Linked DNA regions of Homo sapiens: all the other regions are linked to region 3. Evidence: promoter capture Hi-C in 16 types of primary human blood cells and fetal thymus (Javierre and others, 2016). All regions are on one chromosome and are shown on one strand. Each heading gives the region's core, a stretch centred on a gene start or on the middle of the fragment in contact. The rest is flanking DNA. Distances are from core to core; before and after follow the strand shown. Region 1 overlaps MIR181A1HG (MIR181A1 host gene). Region 2 overlaps NEK7 (NIMA related kinase 7). Region 3 holds the start of PTPRC (protein tyrosine phosphatase receptor type C). Region 4 holds the start of LINC01222 (long intergenic non-protein coding RNA 1222).

Evidence for each region. Contacts are between HindIII fragments. The CHiCAGO score rates a contact against its expected background, and 5 or more counts as called.
Region 1: a contact is called between a fragment that was not itself captured here and the fragment with the promoter of PTPRC in region 3, in 1 of 17 cell types (fetal thymus). The highest score is 7.0, in fetal thymus.
Region 2: a contact is called between a fragment that was not itself captured here and the fragment with the promoter of PTPRC in region 3, in 1 of 17 cell types (total CD4 T cells). The highest score is 9.1, in total CD4 T cells.
Region 4: a contact is called between a fragment that was not itself captured here and the fragment with the promoter of PTPRC in region 3, in 1 of 17 cell types (fetal thymus). The highest score is 7.0, in fetal thymus.

The regions. Positions count from the first base shown.
Region 1 is chr1:198,930,062-198,934,917 of GRCh38, reverse strand. All of the region lies in intron 1 of MIR181A1HG (MIR181A1 host gene), which reads left to right. Among named protein-coding and RNA genes, the nearest start is that of MIR181A1HG, 4.9 kb to the left of the region's middle. The HindIII fragment of the contact is 5,909 bases long and covers 1-4,361 here.
Region 2 is chr1:198,175,150-198,180,274 of GRCh38, reverse strand. The region is part of intron 1 of NEK7 (NIMA related kinase 7); the gene reads right to left. Among named protein-coding and RNA genes, the nearest start is that of NEK7, 21 kb to the right of the region's middle. RefSeq lists a silencer at 4,291-4,350. The HindIII fragment of the contact is 153 bases long and covers 1,324-1,476 here.
Region 3 is chr1:198,635,405-198,640,438 of GRCh38, reverse strand. PTPRC (protein tyrosine phosphatase receptor type C) reads right to left here and starts at 1,399. Exons shown (of 33, transcript NM_002838.5): 1 at 1,302-1,399; 2 at 1,098-1,213. The coding sequence starts at 1,170. The HindIII fragment of the contact is 4,281 bases long and covers 1-4,119 here.
Region 4 is chr1:199,013,767-199,019,047 of GRCh38, reverse strand. It overlaps LINC01222 (long intergenic non-protein coding RNA 1222), which reads left to right and starts at 84. Exons shown (of 3, transcript NR_110525.1): 1 at 84-266. It overlaps LINC01221 (long intergenic non-protein coding RNA 1221), which reads right to left and starts at 2,915. Exons shown (of 3, transcript NR_126351.1): 1 at 2,583-2,915. The HindIII fragment of the contact is 1,341 bases long and covers 2,096-3,436 here.

The DNA.
Region 1 (4,856 bases), core at 158-2,657, 290 kb before region 3:
TAGTCAGAGTTTCCTGGTTCTAGGAAGCCTTATTAATATGCTGTTTGAACATTTGAAAGGTGGCTGAATTTCAATGATATAAATAGGATGTAGAAATGGTGAGCATTTTGAAATCAAGTTGGATAAAAATGCTACAATACTTCAATTTATTATGACTTGGTGTTTTTTATTCGCCACTTAACATTTTGTAACAATTAAATCCTTTTTACTTTTAACTTATTTCTTTAGGAGAGAACAGTTTTGTACCAATGATTTAGAAGTAATGCTCTCTCATGTGCTTTTATAAGGGTATATCTATGGATTAGATAGTAGTTGAATTAACTTTCGTGTGAGCTAGTTCAGGGTTTGTATTTATTTTCAAGTCTGTTTTATGGGTCTTATACTGGATAGTTACTCACCAAACATGTGCTCAGATTTTTATTAATGCACACATTTCAGTACATTATTTTATTTCACTCCAATAAAGTTTAATACTTTTACCAAAACATATTGCCAGATTTGAGAGGTAGATATAGAACAACTCTGTATACATTCTACCCCTTAACTACCAAGTTTTGATGTGTAATTTAAATTAATCTTCATTAGAATAGAATGACTGCTATACTTACCAGTTTTTACATACCACGTATCTGATACATGAGTTTTAAAATTTTGGAATTTGCTCTTAATACTTCTTCATTCTTGCGTACTAAAAAGCAATTAATCTGAAAGGAATTTCAAAGCATATATGTATAAACAGCACTACGTATATGTCAACAAATTAATAAGATTCATTTTGCCAATGTATTTTGTGACTGTTTTAAAACAAATGAAAAAATGTTTTGTTCTTTTTCTGCTTTCATGTTACTATTGTTAAGAAAAGTATGTAGCTAAAGAATTGACACATTTTGTACTTAGAGAAAACAAGCTACACAAGTTAGATGACAGTCTATAGGGTAAGACTCCACTATGAACTAATAAATAACTTCGTTAAGAAATTCTTGGCCTAACTCTGTAATTTTGACATAAACAGTTCTTCCAACATATAGTGGAAGATTGATGATTAATTATATAATTTCCTTATCAAAGATTAAAATGGGCAAATAGTTGTGTTTAAATTTTACCTACTTTCAAAAAACAATACATGACATTGCCCATTGGGTACAGGTTACTGAAAAGGCATCTTTCAAAGACAAGAAGATAATGGACTTGATTGAAATAGTTGAACTACGTAACGCCAATTCAAGAACAAATGGTTTTTCAGAGCATAACGGAGAAAGAACAATTTACTATAGTACAGTTTATTCTTCTTACACAATGGCAATGATTTATTTGAAATGGCAGAACAAACATAGTAGATATACAAAAACAACCAGTGGGCATTTTATGTCAAAGATATGTCAAGAGGCTTTTGTTTCATATATTAGAATATTTTAATCCAAGTATTTATCTGAAGACTTAGCTTAAATCTACATCGTTGTTTAGCATGTGCTGATATTATGATCATGTATGTCTCTTACATGCATGTAGCATATTTAGTATATATATATATGTATATATATATATAATGTATTTGAATATAGTCTTCTGACCCCAAATAATTGTTGTCACTTTATAATAAGAGTTCTTGAAGACTACTAATGTACTTCAATACAATAAAATTCAGATTGCGATATCAACTAGCTATGTCTATACTACCAGAAGGGCATTATCAGATATTGGATGAATTAATGTATTGATGTTATAATTACCACAAATACCTCATGTCAAAGAAGAATATCAAAAGATATGACTCTAATTTGACAAACAGTATAAAATGTGATTTTTAAAACCATCTCTGTTTCTTACTACCATGAAAATGATTTGCAAAAGAAGACTCAACACTTAAAATTTCTCTTCATGAAAAGAGAATTTTTTTTAACTTAGCCTTTAGGCATAGGGCCTGAAATTATTGTGAGTAGATACCTGAGCACTGTGCAGAGAATGCACAGGAACCTCAAGTTGCGATGAGAAAACAAGGGAAACTGGTTTGGCTGCTTTATGTTTCAAATTTTATTCTTGCAATCCTACATGACGACAATACTCAAAATTAATTTGAGTGAAAACTATCAAAGTTATTTTCACAATTTTCAAAAGATCCACTGTCTTGTTGACACTCTATGAAGGAAAAGTGTTCTAAAAATGATTGAATGTTCTACTGAGTGAAACTCAGTCAAGCTCAGTGAGGCGCTGGGGTCAAATGGGCTCATGAATCACAGATAGGAAATGAACTGTGTATTGCATATTTGAAAGTTTAAAAAGAAACATTTGGGATATTTTACCGTAAACAGATTTTGGTTTGATTTCTGGCACATCTTTTTAAACATCAAGACTGCAGTTCAGCTGAAATAACTTTTTATATGTATAGCTAAGACCAGATGGCCACGTGCTCCTTTCTTATTTAGATGAGACTTTTCCTTTCAATAACATCTTTCTTCCTGACCTGCTTAAAAATTCCAGCGAATGAAATCAGCACAGGATTTTCAATTCTAATTGACCATGTGCAGAGGAAGGGCCAGTAGAGAAATCAGTAGAGGCATTGTGAGGCTCACTGCCTCAGTTTTGTCTTTGTGTTTTACCATTACAAGCCAATCTAGACTAATCAAAAGCATTTAATTTTTATTAATATTAATATAGCTGCAAGATTTGTCTTCAATGAAAATTATTTGAGTTGGCTTTTTCTATCATTTTATCACAAGTAATTCTTTTAAGTTATTATTCGCTTACACAGTTTCAACTGTCTAGTAAGCACTTTATTGGTTAAAAAATAAAATATTGGTTGAATTAAGATGAAAGAATGGTTGTACTAAATTAATTTTTCTTGTTATTTAAAAAAACATTATTTTTGGAAGATACATATGCTTTTTAAATTTACCATGAAAATATTCACTATATAATATTCTTGGTTCATTATCTGTATAGTCATTTTATAAAGAAAATATTTTTATGTAAATTTTATTTGAACTTGGACCAGTAAAAAAAATCAAGAATAGAACGTGAGCTCCATATTCAGTATAGCTCAGCGAATTACGTATGTATTAAAAGTGGGCATCTAAGTTCCCAGAATTTTTTTCTTTTTGAAAAATTCTTGACTCAAATAATTATCTTAATTAATTACTGCAAAGAGTCAAAGATTTTTTTAAAAGACATTTATTATTCGAATGGTGAAAATATTAGATGAAAACAAGTTATCCAGACATATTGACATTTGTTTGCCTAATAAAGATAGAAAAAACCATAAACCAAAGGTGTATACTTTAAAAATATATAATAGAGTTAAGAAAAACTCCAAATTAATTATCAGGGTTTTTGAAGTGGTCTCAGGGCAACACTCTATCTGATTGGGTGTTCTTTGCTCATTCTTCATCAGGTACTTTATATCTCAAGCAAATCTATTAGTTGTCCAAAAATATGTGCTGCCTAATCATCAAAAGCCATGTTTTTTCAATTGTTTGAAAAGTGCAAGTCTTATGAATGATAAGATCAATTATAATTTTTTTAAATCAAAATTTCAGAGAAAACTGAACTGTATTTGTTCATGGGATTCACAAATATAAAGACATGTTCTAAGCCACCAAAATATGAAGTAAATTCTTTATGAACATGGAAAATTTAAATATCTGAGATCATCTTTTATATATATGTGTGTGTATATATATATTCAATCTATATAGAGAGAATATATAATTATATATATGTTCTGTGAATCAATTTGTGCTTCCAAAATATAAGAATTTTCCAATATTTGATGATTTTCCCATCAATTTAGGAATTATAAAAACCCATTAGAAAAATTAAGGGCAGTGATTTAGCCAATTCTTGTTTTCCTACCTCAAATAAATACAATATTTTTAGAAACTTAAGAAATCAAACAAAATATACACACAAAAAAAGCATAAAAGTATTACATTATACAAATTTCTAGTTTTGCTTTACTTTTAAAACTATACATTTTAATAGTGCTGAATCTAACTTTGTTGGTGGGAGGTAATGGATAATAGAATCTTGGGGGAAAAAACAGTAAAATTACATCGGTGTTATAATTTCAGATGGTTGAAGCTAAGATGTTCTGGACAGATAGTTTTAAATAAGGAATAGAACTCTGAGCTACTCCCATTTTTCTCCTTTTCCTTGTTACTCTGGAAAAATTGGTCTTGATCCTGCAAGATTGTAGATAATCAAAAATATTACATAAAATAAGAAACACTTTCTACTTATCTTTGAAATAAGTTTTGGTACTTTTATTTGTGTTGGGTCATGGTTGAGATTTACTGCTCTGTTTCCATGTATCCTGATTCTGTAGGCGAACAGAGCATAAAAAAATAGGGCCAGTTAGGGAAGCTTTGCAATCGTGCAAAATGTCTGCCCCTTGCTGTATCCTCTTTCCTGTTCTCTAAGACTGCGACAATCAGTTAGGAACAGCAATCCTTGAGAAACCCAGGCCTCTTTTAACTCTCCAGGGACACTACTTCTATCTGTTTTCATGCTCCTTCTAAAGGATCCTCCTTCAGACTATAGCACACTTCCTGAACTTCCACCCAGTTTGCTACATTCCCAGTCATTTCTGCTTAGTTAGGACTTTGCCTCACCCTCAATGGTGCTCTTTATGTTTCACACGCAGAGCTGTCTTCTTAAATTTTTGTTTTAAAATGTTATATTTTTAACTCTAAGGGAAACAGGGTTAACAGGGTAGACATGACATCAAAAGGATAAATGTAGGGACCGACGCAGATGTCTTTGGCATTCTGAAAATCTGCAGTGTAGTAGACAGAATAATACGATTACACTGAATTTGATTGGGCAGCTCTCACTTCTGGTTCATGAAGTGTTCCCACTTC
Region 2 (5,125 bases), core at 151-2,650, 460 kb after region 3:
AATTTTCTCTATGATGCAAAGGCTTTTAAATATTAGTACAAACTGAATGCTTACTTTTAACTGGAAGCACCCCCCCACCAAAAAAAAAAAGGGAGGTGTAGAAATCATGATTCTCTCTGGCCGTGATTTTTAAGGTTTCTAAATTTTATGTTTATATGTACTCTTCTAGCAAAATAAGCATCAATATGCTTTATTGACATTTTACACTTATCATTTTGTACTTTTCAAAAAGTTTCCACAGATATCTTCTCAAAACATCACAGTGGAGTGAGTGGGAAATAATTTCCAGATTACAGACAAGAAACTCCAAAGAAAGAAGTTACACAACTTAACCAAAATTACACAAGGAGAAAGCAAAGAAACTCAGGTTTCCTGACTCCTATAAATCAGGTTTAAGTTCAGTCTACTTTGTGTGTTTACACACACGTGTCTGCACACATACACACACACACACATACATACACACACACACACACTCCTGTGTAACTGTAGGTTCTTCCTGGCAACAGGAAGACTGCAGAAATCTGCATACGAACAAAATTTTCTTAAACTCTGTAAAGCCACAATTGAAGGATAGGGTTTCACAGACTATAAAGGCAGTCCTCAAGACCACAGAAAGACTGTTTAGCCCAAAATCCAACCACATCCTGGAGAGTCTGTCCCAGCCTCAGGTCCTAAAGTCCCTTGATTTTCCTACATGAACACTTCTATTCTGTTGGAGCCATCCTCATGCATCTTGCTGTACACCAAAAATAATCCTTTTTTTAGAGTATTATACCACCTTACTGTTCAAGAATCTGTATGAATTCTCTGTCACTTAACTGTTAGACCAAATTTAAATTCATCTTAAGAATTCAGGGCTTACTGGATAAAAAAATAAAGCAAACATAAAGGCCCATAATGAAGAATGTCTATTTAAGTTTTGAAAAGCCATGCATGTTCTACATTTTTAAAAAATGTTTTACACACACAACACACAAATTTCCTAAAATCCACTGTAACTTGAAAACTACATGAGGATAGGTTTCCAAATAATGTTTTCATTTAAGAAATCACTATAGTATATAGAATGCCTAAAAATGCAAGGCCTTATATTAGAATTGGCAACAGAAAATGTAAAGATTAATATATTTCCTATACTCAATGAGTTTAAATTATAGCAGTTGAGAAGAAATAAGGACAAACATATGAAATTACAGTATGTTTTTATATTGACCATATCCCATATCAAATGACAGTCTCAATTTTCTAAGAGGCTTTTCCTTAAAAAAAAAAGGGGGGGGGTATCAAATGGTATCAAATGCTTTTCTATTCTACTAAGCTTATCTCACAAATTTTCTTACTGAACCAAATGAGATAATGAATCAAATAGCTAGATCTCTTCCATTATATTATCTTTATATGCTCAGATAAACCTTTATCGGTCATGACTGATGACTCTTTAACTGTACCATTAGTTTTAATTTTATTGAAGCTTTGTGTATCTACAACCATAAGTGCTCTTCAAACTCTGCTCTTTAAAACACTAGAATTCCAGGAGTTGTTAATCTGTATTCCATGACAACAACAACAACAACAACAACAACAAAAAATGGCAGGGAGAGGGTCCATGAACAAATGAATCTGCAAAATACTGGGCAAAATAAAGTCAAGTTGGTTTCTTAGCTATAAGACTTCTCAGGGATCCAATTACACTAAAGTGCACTGTAAACCCCAAAAGAGTACCCGATGCAGATTTTTCCAAACTTGTCTAGCCACAAAATTCTCCTACAGAATTTCTATTATCTTGGAAAAGTCTGGTAATCTGTTGAACACAGTCTGGTCAATATTCGACCAACATATCATCCTTTGGGCCAAATTTTTGCAGGCTTTGATATTAATATAGTAACTCAAGAGCATGAACTGAAAGATTCCTATTCATTTCGATTTAAAAGTAAAAAACGTTAAAAACAGGACTATAAGTCTAAGTGGGAAGGCAGCTCATATTACTTTAATTCTTCCATAGTCATTAGTCTATTAGTTATTAGGGCTTGAGTCGATTTATAAAGTTGTTCTTTCTCTTATTTAGTGATTTTCTTCATTAAACTCTACTTTAAAATTTATATTGCTACTCCTCTGTGTTTTCTGATGTATTTTCCTTATAAATCTTGGCTACCTTTTTATTTTTAACCTTTCTAGGTTGATTCGTTCTAAGAATATCTTTTGAAAGCAGCACATAGTTGAGGATCTCTCTTTAATCTGAGTCCTTTTAAAGGGAAATTTAATATACTGTATACAAATTGTTTTGTTGACACTTGTCTTTTATATTCTTAATTCTTATGTTTCTGTGCTATTTTTTTTCATCTCTTGCCACATGGACGATGTTTGCTTGCTTGATTTTGTCTAGCCATTTAGAAAACAAACATATCTTTTCTTATCTTAATTCCACTAATGGTGATTCCAAGTTATTTAAAGGCCTCCTTTAACCAGACTTTTTGTTCATTATCAAAGTAAAACTGAAATCCTTCTTCTGGCACACAACCCGAGGTTAGCTGAGGAACTGATCATGCCATCACTCTTCCCTTTCCCCCAACACTTCATTCCCAGTTCTCAGATTATAAGTTTTATAACCATACCCTTTTTAAGTTATTCTGACATTTTGTACTATTTCCCATCTTGCAAAACAAGTATTTAGTCTTGCTTCTACATTTAAAAAAAGCATTTCAATGCTTTTTCTCAATGATTTTGTACAAACATGTCCCTTTCCCAAACTCTTAATAGTACATTTTCAAATAATTTTTGAAGAGCTCATATGTGATACATTGTCTCTGAACGTTGAAAATAAAAAAAGTAATTCTATTGCCATCATACATGAACAATAATTTGGCTGTGTATGCCCTTTTTTAGCCACAATCCTCTGCTTTGATTTTGTTAGGTCTCTGAAGTAATTGTTCCATTACTTCTGGCATTTTGTGATACTGAAGAGAACACTTTGATCCCTTCCAATTCTTGGCTGAAGAACAGTAATTTACTTTCATCAATTATTGGTTCAGAACTGTGTGTTTACCTACTACTACTTAATATAGTACTTGCTTGAAGTAAATCAAGCTAGCAATGTGAATCACTACATAAAGAGCATAATAAGGAAATTATTTTATCTACTTTTATCGTTTCTACACAAAATGAGTCTTTTGCTCTGTGATCAATAAACAAGTCTGCTGATTCTCTTGTTTAAGTTTCCTTTAATGGTAAGTCCCTTGGTTATTTAAATCAATAATCACACATTTTCAGCTGGACATAACCTGCCTCCTACATACTGACGATTTATAAACCTGTAGCTCCAGAATCTCATTTCCAATTATATTGCATCTTTCTGCCTAATATCCTAAACCTAACATGTCTAAAATCTTGAACACTCTAAACTGTTTCTACTCTGTATTTCCTTTCTTAGTGAATGGCATTTTCATCCAGTCACCCCCTACATTGTTATCCGTCATCCCCTACGGTCCCTAGGTCATACCAGAAACTTTTACTCCCTTACCTCTACGTAAGTCCTCAACTCCTACTAATTCTGCCTCACAAACATCATCACTCTGTTTATCCCAGACCCTCATGATCCTTGCTACTATTAAAATCTACTAACTGCTCTTCCTGATGTTAGTAATGAAATTCTTATTCTACATACCCATTATATATATATATATATGATAAATCTAAGATGAAAATCTATGTCATAAGCCTGCTTAAAACTCTTTAATGAATAAAACATAATCTCCTCAACCTCACTCCTTACTTGCCAGCTACTTTCCCCCACATAAGTACCATACTCTGGCCTTAATGTGAACCACTTATACTTCCTCCAAATGCCAAGTTATTTAATACCTATGTGCCTCTGACACAGACAATGGCATCATACTGAAATACTCAACCCAGCTAGTCAGCCTGGTCAACCTTGCTTGGTACTCAGGTAGCCTTTTTTAAAATACGTATTTTAAGCATTTGTCTCATGTATTTAAATGAATCAGTTGTCTGTCCACCTTAGGCCCTACCCATTACCTATGTATTAGCAACTACTACTCAAGGGCTGAATCTATTTGCTCTTCATTTTTATACCTTCGGCACACATGAAGATCCAATAAATATTTGTTGAATAACTAAACACAGTTAGAAAACAAAACAAGAGATTAAAAGACTACAGGTCTAACCATCAGGAAACCTTAGTTTAAATTCACATGAGCACCTGCTTTCGATTAAAGACAACATATCCGCCCTGTGTCTCAGTTCCCTCCCCTCTAAAGGAAGGTTCATAATGAGTACATAGCATGAGAAGACAGAGCAAGGTCTCACATCATTATCTCTGAAACAACAAATCAAATCAGGGCACTTTCTACTGTAAAAGAATGGCTGGAAGAACAGTTCTCAAGAGTTTTAAGCAGCACACAAATGCAAGATAGTATTATTTCTTCTGCTTATCTTTACCGAAGAGTTTCCCTACAAGCATGTGAAAGACAAATGATACTTATTCGGCCCTTTTAAAGTATGTCCAAAAAGCTTTTGATAGACTTTGTATTTGTTTAGGTTAACTGTGGACACAGAATGCTATTACAAATTCCCCTCATGTTTTTATATGTCATTCAGTTAGTCACATAGCAACAACTAAAGTCTGGCAAAAGCACATGCTCACTAAGCTAATCATTCAGCTGTAATACTAGAAAAATCATGACAACCAAACTGATTTAAAGAGCTAAGATAAATAGCTTGGCCCCATCTTCAAAACCAGATTTAAAAAACATTCTACTGAATTCCTTGTACTAAATAATTCATAGTATGAATTTTATCATAACGAAGTTGATAAGGCCTTATGGAATACAGGCTAGTACTTGGAAATACTTTCATTAGTATGAATTATTTATGGTAAGGTCATTTGTTTTTAAAAGCCTTTGGTCTGTAACAAGTACTCAATAACAGAAAAATCACACACAAAAAATGAAAAACACATTTAAATAAAAGAAAAATTTAATGGAATTTTCAAAATTAACACATGGTTTTACATTTAATCCTTATAGAAAGACTTATCAACTGCTCATATTTATTCATTTAACAAATATTTTTTGCATACCTACTCTATTACAGACACTGTTCTATG
Region 3 (5,034 bases), core at 150-2,649:
TAGAAATTGTCAATGTAACATGCTCAAGAGGTAGCTACTTCCCTGACTTTCAGAGGAAAGAAGAACGGTAAAAGTCAAAAAAAGACTTCAAAGTGAATTGTAATAAGCAAGTTGTTTTAAAATACTTTTTATACTTTTTGGAATTTCTACAAAAATTTTATTTTCAATGTCCTTTTAGATACTACATCATAAAGAGAAATATTAAATATTAATTATTAGTTACATTCTATAATCTATTGAAATGTACTCATGATTCATATTGACGCCGCTCAAGAACTATCCATTGAATAGACCATAAATGTGCAAAGATTTCAAACTTTAATAGGCACTGGAAGTCCAACTAGTTGCATTTTCCTACTGAATACAGCATTTGCATGATTTTTAAGAGTTTAAATATTTCTATCTCATCAAGGCTGTAATATTTACCCACCACCCAGGAAGGGCGGTGGCTCCACAAGAATTTCTAAAGCAAAAATGTATTAAAACTATTAACAAGAAACTAAAAACTTGATTTAAAATACATTCTGTGATAAAAATTGCAGAAAGTTAATATTTTACTAAATATCTCAATATATTTTTGAACTATTATATACCCAAGTATTCAATAAAATATGTCAATTAAATTCAAAATTTGAGGAAGCAAACTTCAGGTCTGAAAAGAGGGAGTGGCTTACATACAACCAAAGCTGTTTTATGACTTTTTAAAAGATCAAATTTGTTAAAAGAATAAAAACTCACTTATTTTATCATTAAAAAATTCTCAGGCTTTTATAAATGTGTGTTATTGTCACTTTGGAAGTTAAGTAATAATGTTGCTTTTGTAATATCTTTGAACAGTTGTAAATAAAGATACAGATAGACATTGCTTTCCTTTTAAAATTGTATTTTTTGTCCCGAAACATTTATGTCTTTGTAAACAGAAACAATGTATTCTGTCACACAACTAGCTATGTCTCCCTGAGACAACAATCTTGATGGTTTACAGCAGGCTTCTCACTTCCAGTTACCAACACATTTAAATTATTTTTATGTCTATTTCAAACATTCCTCCAAAAGAGAAAAAATAATTTAAAAAATATTAATATCCTTGTACTTACCTGTCACAAATACTTCTGTGTCCAGAAAGGCAAAGCCAAATGCCAAGAGTTTAAGCCACAAATACATGGTCATATCTGGAAGTCAGCCGTGTCCCTAAGAAACAGCATGCGTCCTTCTGAAAAGCAAAATAATTGTTATCTCTGTAGAAGTTTTTCTCTGTAAAAACGAATCAAAAATGTAAAAGTAAATAAATAAATGCATACTCTCCACTGTTGTCTTATCAGACGAGGAACAATTTCCTCCTCTGTTACCCTAAGAACAAACCACTTGCTAGCTGCATGAACTGCTAGGTGATGATGTCAGATTCGGTTTTACTAACTTCTCCAAAAATACTGTAAGGGTCCTCTTTGCAGGAAGTCAAAAAAGTTGTTCTAAGTCAGTAGAATGGCATTGCACTTCCTTAATTCAAGTAATTACACCAAGTTAGAAAGCCTTTTAAAAGATTTTCCCATCAAGGAAGATGTTTTTAAACCATCCAAATAATGCTCCTTTACAGTATCCATTACCATTTTTTTTAAATTAAATCCCCACAAAATAATCAATAATTTTCTTACTTAAGAGATGACAAACAGATTCAGCATAAGTATAACAAAATGGGTGTTGGCAAGATGACTTAGTAGAAAGTATCAATATTTGACTTACTGAGACGGCCAAATGAATGAAAAAACTACTAATCTGGTTATTTTTGGCAACCCAGTATCATTTACCATTAGGGCATTCAAAACTCAGCAATATGACAGTTTTAGCAGTAAAACCCATTTCTTATGCAAAAGCACTTTCAGACAGCTTAACAGTTTTGCCCCAAATCTTTCACAGATATCCTTGTGAAGCTAGGAGTGGAATCAGAATGTCATTTCTACTATAGTTACAGCAAACCCTGCTTCCAAAAACTAATGTTTCTGTGACTTAAGATGTTCTTGGCGCTACTGATGAGGGAAAGGACAGTGAAAACCAAGAGATACCTTTAACAAAAGTTAACTTGTTTCCTTTTTCTCAGCAATACTTTTTCAACTTTTTTAACAAATAAGACAATGAATTGTATTAACACAATGCTCTTCACCATTCTGATGTTCTTAGTTAAGTCCATCTATTAGGAAAATGCTTACTGGCAAAAAGTATAAATTCAACAATACAATTAGATGAATTGGTTTTATTAATACAATATCTATATGCCTTTAAAAATAAAAGTACACACATGTGCAACTCATTTATTTGAACAATAGATAATGCTTGGGGGACTTTTAGACAGACAGAGCCCTTGTGGTAATTCTGCAAACCCTAGTTTGGAAGCATTATTGTAGGGTTCTTATATTTAAGTAAATAAATCTTTTGATACTTACAAACTTTTTTGTTTTACTCTTACATTGGCTGCTAGGAACTACAGAGCCAAATTTCTATCACACTTTGTGCAAATGGAAATAACCCCACAGCTTAAACTCTAGGTAATAACCTTTTAATAAGATTGTAGTTAAGAATATTATTTTACTATGATTATTATTATATTTAACTTATGGAGCACTTACTATGTGCAGGAACTATGCTTTGCACTTTACATATATTGTATAATTTGTACGATACCCTTGAGCTAGATAATGTTATTATTCCCCATTTTATCTGTGATGTTCAGAGAGGTTAGTTGAGTTGCCTAAGATCTTGCAGCTAGGATGTAGACAAGCTATATTTAGAACCCAAGTCTCCAAGTTTAATTTTGCTTTCCTTACTCACCTTACTATTGCCCTTTATTTTTCTCATCCCTTTTACCAATCTTTTTGTACTATGTAAGTTTATAATACTCGAAAAGATAGACCTTTGAATCAGTGAAAATGAAATTATTCTCTTTTTGCAAATGTATTTTTAAATAAGATAACTGTGCAAGTAAGCACTAATTTTCATGTGGGTAGGCCTAATAAAACATCAGTGTCAGAACTCATGGATTTGAATACTCAGCTCCTCAGCCTATGTCTTAAAATACATTTGCAACAGAAAACTCTTTGGGGATTTGCTTTAAATATCTTTAAGCAAATACTTGTGTTCTGTGAGCTTGCTGTTATGGCAGAATATTTGGCAAAATTAGAGGCCAGGAGAAAAGTGTATATGATCTTTTAAAAGGAAGAAAAGTATATAAAATATACTCTATAACAATGTGAGTTTAGCAGCCTTAAACGGACATTTTAAAAGGGATTTGTGGCTTTAAAAAAATAGTAAGAAGTTAGGAGATTCAATTCCATTTCAGACAGGTGAGAAGACAGATTCTACCCAAGGAATCCAAGATAGATTAGCAACAAATGAGTTGCATTATATGTGTTAATCCAACACATATATAATGTTTTAACATATTCATTGTGTTAAAATTGAGTTTAGTGTCTATAGGAAATACTAGAATTTTAAGCAGCAAAATCTGTACTGTGTATTATAAAGGTGTAAAGACATACAGCTTGAAATACAGAGACATCAGCAGATGAATGTATATACAATTCTGATGGCTCAGAATGGAGACAGTGGCAACCCAGAGGTTTGTTAGCCTGAGGTCCAGGCTGTCAGGAGGGTAGGCAAGAGGGAAGGCCCTAGCAGCTTGTTAGGAGACAGAGCCAGGTTGTCCTTGATGGTATACTACACTAAGCCAGACATCCAGGAAGGACTCCGGGTAGCAGCTTGTCTTTCCACAGGGCATCTGGGGAAATTTCTACTGTATCACATACAGGCCTGGCATCCAAGCCTTCCGCTTGCATCAGCAGAAAACTCTCAAAGAAAACAGGAGGAGTATTTATGACATACTGATGTGATCCACTCTCACTGATTCCCAGAGGGAGGGTGGGCTGGTTGCTGATAAATGGGTATTTTGCAAAGAACAACTGAGTCTAGGAAATGGGCAGGAAGTAACACCAGATTTCATACATAGTAAATACAATGGCACTTGTTGAGTAGCTGAAAACAGTATGTATCCAAAGTCATCTCAAATTTTGATGAAGAAAATTTCAAAATAATCATAGTTAATCAACTTACAATAGATTTTTAAAAGCTTAAAAACTTAATATTTACTTAAATCAATAAAGTCATTTTCCAGATTTTTAAGGCTACCTACAGTAGAGGTTATATAAAGACAGAAACAGATTACAAGTTAACTACAGAGGCAGATGTTACTCATTTGTTCATGCATTCATTCACTCATTCATTCAACAAATACAGAGCAAGTTCCTAATGTAATCCAGTCATTTTACCTGACATGAGGAAAAAATGGTGAGCAAAAACAGGCATGCTTTCTTTCCTATCTACACTTTAGTGGAAGACACAATAATTAATTATCCAGTCATCATGACACTTTCATCACAAAGGCAATACTTCCACACTGTGATTTAAGCATATAATAGGATATTTGGTCTATTCTGGAGGTTGGGAAGTTTTCCTGGAATAAAAAGCAATGGAGCTAGACCTGAAGAAAATAAGTTAAATGAGTATGAGGAGAAGGAAAGTATTCTAGGCAGAAATAATAAATTTAAAGGAGGAGACTGTGTTCAAGGAACAGGAAGAGATGTGAGGCTGATGTAGAAAGAAGCAGAGCCTGGAAAATAAGGAGGTTTCAGAGGGAGATGATGGCCAAATCTTGCCAGGCCTTGCAGGTTCCAAGAATATGTATTTACCCTAAGAGCTATGAGGAAGTTATGAAGCATTATAAACATTGTTCTTGAATTTTCTTACCAATCGTCTCCATGTTGCCAGATTTTATACCATCATTTGTTTCTCTACCCTCATATTATGTGACTTCTTAGTAGCATTAAACAAAATCTTTCCTTCTCTAACCATTATGTTTTGTCAGCTTCCAAAACATCATTACCTACAAATTTAAATTTCCTTAACCCTTATTGGCTTTTCCTCAACAGTTGCCATATTGGGTCCTCTTCCTCTGTCTGCCCTTTTTGTCTCTTTGAGACAGTCTCA
Region 4 (5,281 bases), core at 1,517-4,016, 380 kb before region 3:
TTATGCCGCTTACTTTTGGTTGGGTGTGGCTGACATCAAACCAAAATAAATATATATATACACCTACATACACAAAGGATGACAGCTCAGATGGAAATTAAGCAGGGGTAACATTATGGGCAATGCTTGGAAGATGGCAGCTACTTTTGGGTTGGTGACCTACAAAGACTTCTCTGAGATGGTGACATTTAAGCTAAGATTTACGTGTCAAGAAGGAAATAAGCATAGGAAGATAAAGGGGGAGCAGCTGTGACCATAATGCAGAGGTAAATCTTCAGATATTCAAGGACATTCAAGGGCCAGAATGTTACCAGTATAGCTATCACACCCTGAACTAAGGAAGTTCAGGGTGTGATATGATAGGAACTAAGGAAGAATGATAGGCATTGACATTAGAGAGGCTGAGGCAGGGACCAATCAAGTAGGGTGTTGAGCAGCCAAGTAATTTGGTTTATCCTAAGTGTTATGGAGAGATATTGGAGTGTTTTAAGTAGCAGAATGGCATAATCTGGGTTTCATTTTAAATGGATTACTCTAGCTGTTCTGCAGGAAAGTGGGTATAGGTGGGGAAAGGAGATGAAATCTATATTCATAAGAATTACATGTGGATACTTATATGTGCAGATTCACAGAAAATTATAGGCATATTGAATTTAAGACATTTAAATTTTAAAGAATGTACTCATGATAATGATAATGTTGAAATTATTACCTTGCAGAGAAGCACAAAATCAGAGTATATGCTTTAAAAATCTCCCATTCAATGAAAAGCTATTGAAAGTAAATTTGTAGATTTTTTTAAAGTATTTTAGCAAACAGCATTATGAAAAGTATATTTACAATAATGCAGAATTTAATGTGTTCCTTTAAATAACGTATGTTATGACTTTTTTGACAATAGCACTTCACAGGCTTTATGACTCATGCTTTAAAGTCATATTCCAAAATGACAACACAAATTGTAGTGAGTGAATATGTTTTGGATGTAGACTGATTCAATAGCAGTTTCTGAATGCTAAATGGAATGGTTTATACTTAAAGGAAGCATATTAGAGAGTAAAGCATTAATTTATTGTGAAGCTTTTATTCCTTCTTTTATTTTTGATATTTTTGAAATAGACTACCATTTTTAAATCTCTTATCACAAAAGATCATTTTCATCTTACTCTTAGCAATTTAGAGGTGTTTATCAAACACATTTGGTGTGATACTGGTTCTACCAGGGTTATATAGTACAGATCTAAAAATGTTATTTTTAAAAACCATAGTTCTATAGATAAATAATATTTGAATAAATGAAAATTTAGAAAAGTGTCCTGAGTCTCCGTTACATCTAAGCAGTTTTCAGAACAATCTTATATCTTTGATACACTGGCACCTACTGCTATTAGGAAATGAGCTAATTAGTATAGAATAAGGATATAATAATCATGACTTCTCAATATAGACAGAAAACTAGTACATGAAGACATGTTCCTAGGAGAAAACATGTATAAATCTGCTTATATTTTAATGGTATTACCATATGTAATATTAAACATTATTCCAATTCTCTTTACTATTCAGCAATTCTTATGAAAGTACAGCTACCTTTCACATACAACATGGATGCTCCACAAAGCATAAACTCAGCCCTAGACTATCTTCCTGTTAATAGAAGATTGCTTTCATTTCACTTACTATTTTTATAGACTTTTTTGAAAAACTAAAAAAGGTTAAATTTTTATTTTATGCCCTTATGTAAGTTAATCAAAATCATTCTCCCAATGCAGACAACAGTTATGAGTGTAGCAGATAGAATGTTCATTATCAGTAGAAGACAAATATTGTAGACAATGGAGAAATAAAGTTAAACTGCTTTCCTTTCATTTTAATAGTAAGGCCCTTGTAAAACCTTTAGAAAACTATTATTTTTTACATAAAAATTAATTTCTAATTTTTTCTAATACTATGTATTTATATCATTCCTTTAGAAAAAACTTCTTATATTTCACAATGCAAAGGAGTTTGAGCAGGTTCTGAAAAAATAAATAATTGGAAGTATGAGTCTATTTCTCTGCAGTATTTACTAGTGTGATACATTGCCCACTAAGCTTGTCATTGTATAAAACAGAAAGTTAGCATATATTTTAATCTTCCTAGCACCGAAATATTTAGGCTCAAATATTTTGTAAAATGTTATTTAGTTAAAGTATTTATTGAGCTATTAACATATTCAAAGCAACGTGTTGGATCCCTTGTTTTTAAAGATGAATCAAATAAAATTCCGCGTTTTAGAAGGTTATGGTCTAAAAGAGAAGATAAGCACCCATAATAAAAATGTAAAAGAAGTATGTTCATAGAAGCAGATCTAGTAAGGTGATGTTGGAGTTGAGAGATGGGATAGATTGCTTCCCAAGACATGAGGATACTTCTTGGAGTAATTGGCATTGAGTTATAATGTATGGTAGAGTTAAAATATATGATCATATAGAGAAAGACTTTTCAGACATAATGCAAAAGCAAAAGGTGAGTAGTAGTTTTCTATTGCAGAATAAGAAATTATCACTAATTTGCAGTTTAATATAACACACATTTATTACCTTAAAATTTCTGTGTATCTGGAATCTGGGAAGAGCTTAGCTGAGTCCTCTGTTTGGGGTGAACAAGATTGCAAAAAGGATTTGCCTGGAAGTACAGTCTCATCTGAAACTCAACTGGAGAAAGATTCATTTTCGTTGGCAAAATTTAGTTCCTTGCAGTTAAAGGACAGAGAATTTCAGTGTCTTGTTGATGTTCAACTGGAGACCATCCTCAGCTCCTAGGGGCCACCCTAAGTTCCTTGTCACAATGGTCACCCAACATGCAGCCTACAACATGGCAGTGTAGTTCTTTAAATCCAGCCAGGAAAAAATAAACTTTAACAAGATGGTCACACCATCTTCTCTACATAATCATAAATATGTAATCACATTCCCCCTGTCTTGTATCCTATTGGTTAGAAGCAAGTCACAGGTCATGGTCATACTCAGGGGAAAGTACTATTCAAGGCCATAAATGTCAGGAGATGGGGATGATGGGGGGCCACCACAGAGCCTATCCACCACAGGGTGGAAGGTGAAAGTTTTGGTTTAGCTGAAGGGTGTGACACATGTACGTGGGACAATCAGGTTGGAAAAGAAATTTGGGTTCAGGTTGTGGAAAGAATTGAATGCCCTACACTGGAGTTGAACGTTATATTTTATATACAAGAGGAAACCATTGTTACATTTTTGAATAGTAGGGGAAACTTAATGGAACTAGGCTTCAGAAAGTTTAATCTGGAAATGAGTTGTAAAATGAATAAGGAAAAAATAATTGGTTTAGGAATAAAAGTTAATATATTAACTTGTTGAAAGAATGAAATAATGAATATTGTAGAAAATATGACTATAGAATTGGAATTTAAAATGAAGCTTGTTTCTTAAACTGAATTACAAAAAGGAAGGGTGATCAGCAACTCACCCATTCCTTACCAGGTCAAAATTACAGGCTTCCCTTTATACACGCATGTAATGTAAAATGTTCTTTGGGAAATGTCTCTATAAGAAGGAGAGGTAGGTCTGTGAGACACTCAGGTGTGGAAAATGAGACCTCATGATACTCATCAAGGGGAAGAAAGGTGAACCTTGTAAACATAAGATACCATCTTTAAAAGACCATATATTAAAAAAGAGTAACAGTAGTATGTCTAGGAAAATACTGGATACTGGATGTGCATTATTTTGTGTAATTAAAAAAATTTCACTCTATTGGAAGCACCATCAAATTAAAGAAACACTGACTTTTCATGAGCATCATATAAGGGAAGTGGAAATCAGGATAAAGAAATAGGATAGGTGGAAATAAATAGAACTTGACAGTAAAGAAACATCAGAGAGAGATAATAGTAATAATTGACATTTTTAATGTAGGCAATTAGGAGGTTAGTAATAACCAGAAGGATATGTTGGAAAAAGAGTAGGTTTTAGGGCTACAAGAAAAGTATTGGCTTATATATACTAAATTTAAATGGTTTTCAGAACTGTTGCTGAAGATGTACAATGCACACTAGAACCCACAGGCAGTCAGGAGGAGACAGGTGGATTCTTGGAAGTCACTAGGTAAAGGTGACAATTGAGAGTATAAGACTGAGCAAAATTACCAAGGAAGTGAGTGTGGTTAGAGAAAAAACAAAGACTATGAGCAAATCTTTATAAAGTATCTATATCTCAAAGATGGGATGAGGAAGCAGAGTTGGAAGAACTTGAGAGAGAAGAAAAAGGAAGAGTGATCCTAAAGGTAGTTAAAAACAACAAAGCGAGTAGAGTAGTAGCTCAAAGGAGAGAATCATCTAACTAAGAGATGCAAAGTTGAATCTTTAGAGTGGTCAAGCAAATATTGCAGCAAGCCAAGTCTAAAGTAATAAGAAGGCATGGGACAAAGAAAAAGTGAAATGCATGTGACTCATATAAAGTAACTGACTTCAAAAGAAATATATTTTTTAAAAACAATGTCCTTACGGAAAATACATTGCTATCTTGATTTGGTCCACAGGGTGCCTGTTGGTGATCTCTAGTCTGTAGTAATGTATAATCCAGAGAACAGAAGTAGAATGAAATTGAAGAAAACCATTGTTTCACAAGTAAGAGTTTCTTAATCATCTCTTCGTGAGAGATGTTTTATTAAATGGTGGAAGCAGAAACTGAAGCGTAAGATTTAAGGAGAAAGTGAGTGATCAGGAAGCAAAAACCTTGTCTGATTTTATAGTAATGTAAAACTTGAAAAAACTCTGTCATGTAGTCGTGAAAACAGCCATGAGAAGGTTATGGCTGGTCACAGACAACAGGGGAATGATGAGGCTAAATACTGTGTCCCCATTGGAGACAACAAAGAGCTTCATGAGGCTAATGCAACAGTCAGAGCTGGGAGTGGGAATCAGCAGCAGTAGCCAAGGAGCAGAAGTCCAGCCAAACCTATTGAATGGTATCTTGCTGGTGAGTAGGCTACTTCAAAATCACTATCCATTCCACCTCACCAGCTTCCCCACAGATTTCAAATGCCACCCAGATTTTCAGTGAATAATTTACCTTGGGAAGGCGATGAGAAGTTATTAAAGGGGCAGTGGCTTGATCAGCTCCTTGGGTGCTGCAGGTTTGATTTTTTATTCTTAGAAGACATGAGTCCTGCACAGTTGTGGAATGGATGGGGACAGCCATGGTAAGGAGTTGTATGCCAGAAACAAGAGGGCAGCTTGGTGGAATCAGGCCCTGGAGCAGGACCA